Linked DNA regions of Homo sapiens: region 2 is linked to region 1. Evidence: promoter capture Hi-C in 16 types of primary human blood cells and fetal thymus (Javierre and others, 2016). All regions are on one chromosome and are shown on one strand. The core of a region is centred on a gene start or on the middle of the fragment in contact, and the rest is flanking DNA. Distances in the headings are between cores, read along the strand shown. Region 1 holds the start of PDE4A (phosphodiesterase 4A). Region 2 has its middle 3.1 kb from the start of QTRT1.

The links. Contacts are between HindIII fragments. The CHiCAGO score rates a contact against its expected background, and 5 or more counts as called.
Region 2: a fragment that was not itself captured here is called in contact with the fragment with the promoter of PDE4A in region 1 in 11 of 17 cell types (total B cells, erythroblasts, M0 macrophages and 8 more); the score reaches 7.5 in total B cells.

The regions. Positions count from the first base shown.
Region 1 is chr19:10,418,981-10,422,603 of GRCh38, forward strand. PDE4A (phosphodiesterase 4A) reads left to right here and starts at 1,558. Exons shown (of 15, transcript NM_001111307.2): 1 at 1,558-2,104. The coding sequence starts at 1,785. RefSeq lists enhancers at 351-1,230, 2,411-2,600 and silencers at 1,451-1,920, 2,151-2,200. The HindIII fragment of the contact is 23,098 bases long and covers 1-3,623 here.
Region 2 is chr19:10,696,530-10,700,152 of GRCh38, forward strand. No RefSeq gene overlaps it. Among named protein-coding and RNA genes, the nearest start is that of QTRT1, 3.1 kb to the right of the region's middle. The HindIII fragment of the contact is 680 bases long and covers 1,308-1,987 here.

The DNA.
Region 1 (3,623 bases), core at 308-2,807:
TGCTCGGCGTTCGCCCACGCCGGGAGCCCCCTCTGGCGGGGAGAAAAGTGGCTGTGGGGGTTGAAGACCGGCAGTCTTTTTTTTTTTTTTTTTTTTTTTTCAAATAAGGAGAAGGGCGCGGGGGGAGGGCGGTGGCAAACGGCATCGCGTGCCCTGGGGAGCCCGTGACAGGGGGCGCACGGGGGCAGGGGTCTGGTCCCCGGGTCCCGCAGCAGAGCAGTTTCGCGTTCGAGCTCTTATCGGCGTGGGGGGGGGGGGCGGTGGGACACGCGGGCGCGTGCACTCCCCCCGCCCAGCAGCCATCCTTGGGGGGGTTGAGGGGGATGGGGGCGCACTCGGATCCCGCTCGCTCTCTGCTTGCTCGCTCGGCGCGGCGCTGGGGGAGGCGGGAGCGTGAGTCACGGCGACTCCCGATTTAGGTGCCGGAAGGGGGGCTCTGCTGGCGGGGGCCGCAGGGAGGAGGCTCGCCTGTTTACTCGCCTGAAAAGGGCACGGGGGTGCGCTCCGCGGCTACCTGGGACCTTCCTCAGTTTACCTCTGGCAGAAGCGCTTTAGAAGAGGCAGCGATGTATAGAGCGGTGGGCCGGCAGCTGCGGTATCCGCCACAGGGTGTCTTCCTGGAGCCACAAGGGAACCAATGGGACACACCCCAGAAACACCCCAGAGGCCCCAGGCCGACCACACACATACACTCACGCACACGCACACACTAACATACATAGACGTCCTCCGACACTACAGTCAGACGACAGAGGCCGAATCGCGTGCACAACTCCGCAAGCACACACCGACCACAAACGCATCCAAGCGCTTGAGAACACATTCACAGTCCCCAGGCCACCTGAAAAAAGACCACGTAGGGATGCACATCCTCCAAATAGGTAGCACATGTGCGCACACATCCTTCACCCACAGACACACACAGTTATACACACAGCCAAATCCAGAGAAACGGGCAGACAACAGCAGCCAACCACGTGCGCACACACACTTCCAGCCGACACTGAAAACACAGACAACCCTCGGAAGAGGCCACGTGCGCGCACATCCCGCCCCGGGCCCGCACCATCACTATCCTCCGACGCACAGACAGGAGATCCCACACACTCTGCCGCCGCCCGCTGCAGGTACCGCGCCGGTGGCACTAGGACCACTCCTCAAAAACTGCCCCCCGCCAGGGGTAGCGGCGAGGACACGCCAACACCGGACTCCGCCCTCGCCATGATGGACCGACTGACTGACACTCTGGCAACCAGTCCGGTGTCTGCTTCCAGATCGGATTAACCGTTTAACTCCTTCGTGCCTGTGCGCGCCGCGGCCAAGCAGGGTGCTTTGAAGACAGACGAGTTCCAGCGCCCCCTCCCAGCCCGGAGCGGGGATCTGCGTGGGCGGGAAGGGCCCCCCTCCTTAGGTAGCTGCCCCCCGCTGGCCCGGACGGAGGAGGAGGGGGGCGGCGCTGACAGCCGCGGCGGGCGGGGGGCGGGGAGGGGCGGGACGGGGCGGAGGAGCCGGGGCTGGCGCCGAGCGGGCCGCGGAACGCGGAGCGCGGAGCGCGGAGAGCGCCGCCGGGCACTGAGCAGAGCTCCAGGCGCCGAAAGGAAGCTGCAGAGCCCGGCCCGGGGGCGATTGGCCCGCAGCGCCCCCGGGTCTGTCCCCGGGGCGCCATGGCCCTACCGCGGCCGGGCGCACCCGCGGGGCCCTGGGCTCGCTGGCTTGCGCGCAGCTGAGCGGGGTGTAGGTTGGAAGGGCCAGGGCCCCCTGGGGCGCAAGTGGGGGCCGGCGCCATGGAACCCCCGACCGTCCCCTCGGAAAGGAGCCTGTCTCTGTCACTGCCCGGGCCCCGGGAGGGCCAGGCCACCCTGAAGCCTCCCCCGCAGCACCTGTGGCGGCAGCCTCGGACCCCCATCCGTATCCAGCAGCGCGGCTACTCCGACAGCGCGGAGCGCGCCGAGCGGGAGCGGCAGCCGCACCGGCCCATAGAGCGCGCCGATGCCATGGACACCAGCGACCGGCCCGGCCTGCGCACGACCCGCATGTCCTGGCCCTCGTCCTTCCATGGCACTGGCACCGGCAGCGGCGGCGCGGGCGGAGGCAGCAGCAGGCGGTAAGACTCCCCGCGGCGGATGCGCGCGGAACGGATGGGCGCGCAGGGAGGAGGCAACTCGAGCTGCCGGCCGCAGGGGGCGCTAGGATGCGGGTGGGGTCGGTTTGGCTGGCGGGGGCGGAGGGAATTCGGCTGCGGGGGCGTCTGGGACCTGGCCCCTGGTTGTGCGCTCTACGGGAGGCTTCCTGCTGAAGCCCATCCTGGGGTCCATTTAGGGGGCGCCACGCTGCGCGTGGTGTTAACGAGGTCTGGGTTGGGGAAGGGGGCTGCACACTTAGGGGTCTGTATTCTTGGTGACAGTGCAGAACAGCTGCTAAGCTGGGAACCACTTGGAGGGACCTTCCTGGGGGCACTATACTGAGGGCTAGATTCGCAGTGTTTGGGGTACTCTTGGAGCACTCCATAAGGGGGTGCCTGCTAGGACCAGGATCTTTACTTCAGGGTGGGGTGCTCTCAGGGTCCTTCTAGGGGATGGAGGACTCTATTGCGGGGATGTTAGTGGACTCCTCCTGCAGCAGCTGGGGTCAGAAATCCAGAGGGTGCCTCTTGGGGGAGCACTGTTTTGGGAGCCTTGCGTTAGATTGGAGTTCCCCTCTCAGGGCAAGAGTGTTAGCGTTAAGTAGCTGTTCAGAGGCAGGAAACAGTGGAGGGGGGGCGCAGTCCCAGCACAGAGGGAAGGAGTCCCTGACTGCAGAGGTGACAGCATAGTGAGGGTGCATGTGTGTTGAGCTTGGTCTCCTCTGAGGGTATTCTCCGATTGACCTCCGTTTGCTCCAGCTGTCCGGGTATGACCAGCTGTGGCTACCTCAGTTGTGTGCTCTGTGTGAGCTTCTGGGGTCTTGTGATGGTGACACGATGACTCTGTGTCCTCCAGGGACAGTGTAATTGTGACAGTGTGACTGTGTATTTCCAGGGTAGTGTGACTGTGTGTTTCTGGGACAGGGTTTGCGACAGTGACTGTGTGTGCTCCAAGAATGCTGTGACTGTCACAGGGTGACTGTGGCCTCATGGGATGCAGTGATTGGGATAGAGTGACTGTTTCTGCTCCTAGGACAGTGATTGTGCAATGGTGTTGGTGGTCTAGGGACAATGTGATTGTGACAGTGTCATTTCTGGCATGCAGTGATTGTGGCACTGGGGTGTTTACACTTGGGGAACAATGTGATTGAGTTCGTGGAACAGTCTGTGCTCCTTGGACACTGTGATTGAAACACAGTGGCTGTGTGTTAGTCTTCACCAGGTGCTCACGTCTGAGCGTCGGTGCTCTGACATGTGGTCTGTGTTCCCTCTGCCTGGTGTATCCTAAGAACTGGTGTCCTCTAACCACCTGGTGTTCTTAGTTATTGTTCCTCCTCTGATGGTGCTCCAGGGTCTGATTGCTTGTGCTCCAGCGATGTGTGCAACTGACAGCTTTGCCCGTGTGCTCTACCTGGATGCCCCACTGCTGGGGATATCACCAAGACGGTCAGATTTGGGCTCCTTATCCCTGGAGCTCCTGAGTGAGGCCTCTCTAAGATGT
Region 2 (3,623 bases), core at 398-2,897, 280 kb after region 1:
CTCACTGCAGCTTCCACCTCCCGGGCTCAAGCTATCCTCCTGCCTCAGCCTCCCGAGTAGCTGGGACTACAGGTGTGCAGCACTGCGCCCGTATAATTTTTGTATTTTTAGTACAGCAGAGGTTTTCGCCGTGTTGCCCAGGCTGGTCTCCAACTCCTGGGCTCAAGCGATCTACCTGCCTCAGCCTCCCAAGGTGCTGGAATTACAGGCGTGAGCCACTGCATCCGGACTAGAATATATTTGTTTAAGTGGGTGGATTAAGCCTCTTTTGATAATTGTTGAAGCTGGGTCATTGGTTACAAGGTGATAACTATGCAATTCTCTGTCCGTTTGTCTATGCTTGAAAAGTGTGTAATGAAGAATGTCAGGTGGCACAGTGATCTCCAGGAGGGGCAGAGAACCAGCATCAGGGGCTACACAGCTAGTGGTGGTACCCCAACGCCAACCCCACACATAGCCCAATCTCACAATGACTAAGTACAGAGACTGTAGTTGATGCTACAAGGATTACTGTGGCTGGAGACCAGATGTGCAACCACCTATAAACTTCCTGAGTGTAGCTTCAGTTTTGACATAAACTGTTCTTATTTTCATGAATCTCTGTGACATGGATGTAGCTGCCTCCAACTCCTGTCCCTAGTGTTTTCGAGCCCAAGGGCCTGTTTCTCCTTATCATTGGCTTTTTTCTTTTTCTTTTTCTTTTTTTTTTTTTTTTTGAGACGGAGTTTCACTCTTCTTGCCCAGGCTGGAGTGCAATGGCACGATCTCGGATCACCACAACCTCCATCTCCCAGGTTCAACCAATTCTCCTTCCTCAGCCTCCTTAGTATCTGGGATTATAGGTATATGCCACCATGCCCGGCTAATTTTGTATTTTTAGTAGAGATGGGGTTTCTCCATGTTGGCCAGGCTGGTCTCAAACTCCCGACCTCAGGTGATCCGCCCGCCTCAGCCTCCCAAAGTGCTGGGATTACAAGTGTGAGCCACTGTGCCCGGCCACCACCACTGGCTTTTGATCCAAATTGTGAATGGCAGAACCTGAGCCTTGTGCAGCCTGGCTGCAGGGCAGGCTGGGAAAGTAACTGTCAATTATAACTTCTATGGAAAGGCAGGCTTAGCCTTAAAAAATATGACATTCTCTCAATGCAGGGGTGTATGAGCGGGGTCAGGTGTTAGGTGGCCAAGAAAAGAAGGGGCTATACTAGCTTCAGAACAGCAAATCCAGGCAACCCTTAATCCAATCAGCCATTCATCCAATCATGGTGATTGCATTCTAAAATGCAGAGGATTCCCTCCAACATCCCAGAAGCTTTGGATAACCAAGAATTGCAGGCAGGTCAGAGCTCCAAGATAAGGTCACCCAGAAAAGAAAGAGACTCACTTTGGATAAGATAATGAAATGCTGTTTTTGGAACCTAAACCACTGAGAGGCAACATTGGCTGCACACAGAAATTCCTTGAGGCTTAAAACAAAAAACAAAAGAAAATTGATGACTGAGTCTCATCCCCATAGATTTTTTTTTTTAAGAGATGATCGGCCAGGTGCAGTGGATCACACCTGTAACCCCAGCACTTTGGGAGACTGAGGCAGGTGGATCACCTGAGGTCAGGAGTTCGAGACCAACCTGGCCAACATTGCAAAACCCTGTCTCTACTAAAAATACAAAAAATTAGCTGGGCATGGTGGTGGGCGCCTGTAATCCCAGCTACTTTAGGAGGCTGAGGCAGGAGAATTTCTTGAACCCGGGAGGTGGAGGTTGCAGTGAGCCGAGATCGCACCATTGCACCCTAGCCTGGGCGACTCTAATTTCTGGCCTCAAGCAATCCTCCTACTTCATCGTCCCAAAGTACATAAGCTACTCACCATAGATTTTAGTTTAAGTTGTCTGGGCATAGAGATAGTTAAAAACTCCACAGGTAATTCTATGTGCAGCCAAGAGTGAAAAACAGTGGTTCTGAAACGAGTGGGCATCAGAATAACACAGAAAGCTTGGCAAGAAGCAGACTTAAACACATATTGGCCAGGCGCTGTGGCAATCCTCCTGCTTCAGTCTCCCAAGTAACTGGAATTATGGGTAATTTTTTAACTTTTTTTTTTTTTTTTTTTTTGCCATGTTGCCCAGGCTGGTCTCTAACTCGTGGGCTCATATGATCCACCCACCTTGGCCTCCCAAAGTGCTGGAATTACAGGCGTGAGCCACTGCGCCTGGTAAACATTTTGAAAAATAGAAATATTAGCTGGGCACGGTGGCTCACACCTGTATCCTAGCACTTTGGGAGGCCTAGATGGGTGGATCGCTTGAGGTCAGGAGTTTGAGACCAGCCTGGCCATCATGGTGAAACCTTATCTCTACTAAAAACAAAAATTAGCCGGACGCGGTGGCTCACACCTGTAATCCCAGCACTTTGGGAGGCCAAGGTGGGAGGATCACCTGAGGTCAGGAGTTCGAGACCAGACTGGCCAATATGGAGAAACCCTGTCGCTACTAAAAATACAAAAAAATTAGCCAGGCGTGGTGGCGTATGCCTGTAATCCCAGCTACTCAGGAGGCTGAGGCAGGAGAATCACTTGAACCCAGGAGGTGGAGGTTGTAGTGAGCCAAGATTGCACTATTGCACTCTCCAGCCTGGGCAACAAGAGCAAAACTCCGTCTCAAAAAAAAAAAAAACAAAAAACGGCCGAGTGCGGTGGCTCACGCCTGTAATCCCAGCACTTTGGGAGGCCAAGGCAGGTGGATCACCAGGTCAGGAGATCAAGACCATCCTGGCTAACATGGTGAACACCGGTCTCTACTAAAAATACAAAAAATTAGCTGGGCGTGGTGGCAGGCGCCTGTAGTCCCAGCTACTCAGGAGGCTGAGGCAGGAAAATGGCGTGGACCTGGCAGGCAGAGCTTTCAGTGAGCAGAGATTGTGCCACTGCACTCCAGCCTGGGAAGCAGAGCAAGACTCCATCTCAAAAATAAAAAAAAAATTAGCCGGGTGTGGCAGCAGGCACCTGTAATCCCGGTTGCTTGGGAGGCTGACGTAGGAGAATCGCTTGAACCTGAGAGGCGGAGGTTGCAGTGAGCTGAGACTGTGCCACTACACTCCAGCCTGGGCAACAGAGTGAGATTCTGTCTCAAAAAAAAAAAAGAAGAAAAGAAAAGAAAGAAAAGAAATAGAAAAGAAAGGATGAGTGTTGTAGACAAAGGCAGGTGCAAAGGCCCTGAGGTTGGCTTGCTGGTGGGCAGGGGTGTTTTCCAGGCGGGTTTTCCGGGTGTGGCCTTACTAAGGATGCCCCACCATCTGGGCAACCGGCATCCTTAGCCTTTCTTACAGGATAGGGGGCTTGAGGCTCCCTTAGACACCCTCTTGGCCAGAGTAGCTCAGTTTAAGACAATTGAAAGGACATCTTCTGGGACAATAGCGCTCTCTGCTGGCCAGGACAGATATCAGATCCAGTTGTAATGATAACAATTACTATATAATATTGTATATTATTATTATCTTTTTTTTTAGGGTTTCGGTCTCACTCTGTTGCCCAGCCTGGTGTACAGTAGCCCAATCATAGCTCACTGCAGCCTCCAACTCTTCAGCTCAAGTGATCCTCCTGCCTCAGCTTCTTGAGTAGCTGAGACTAC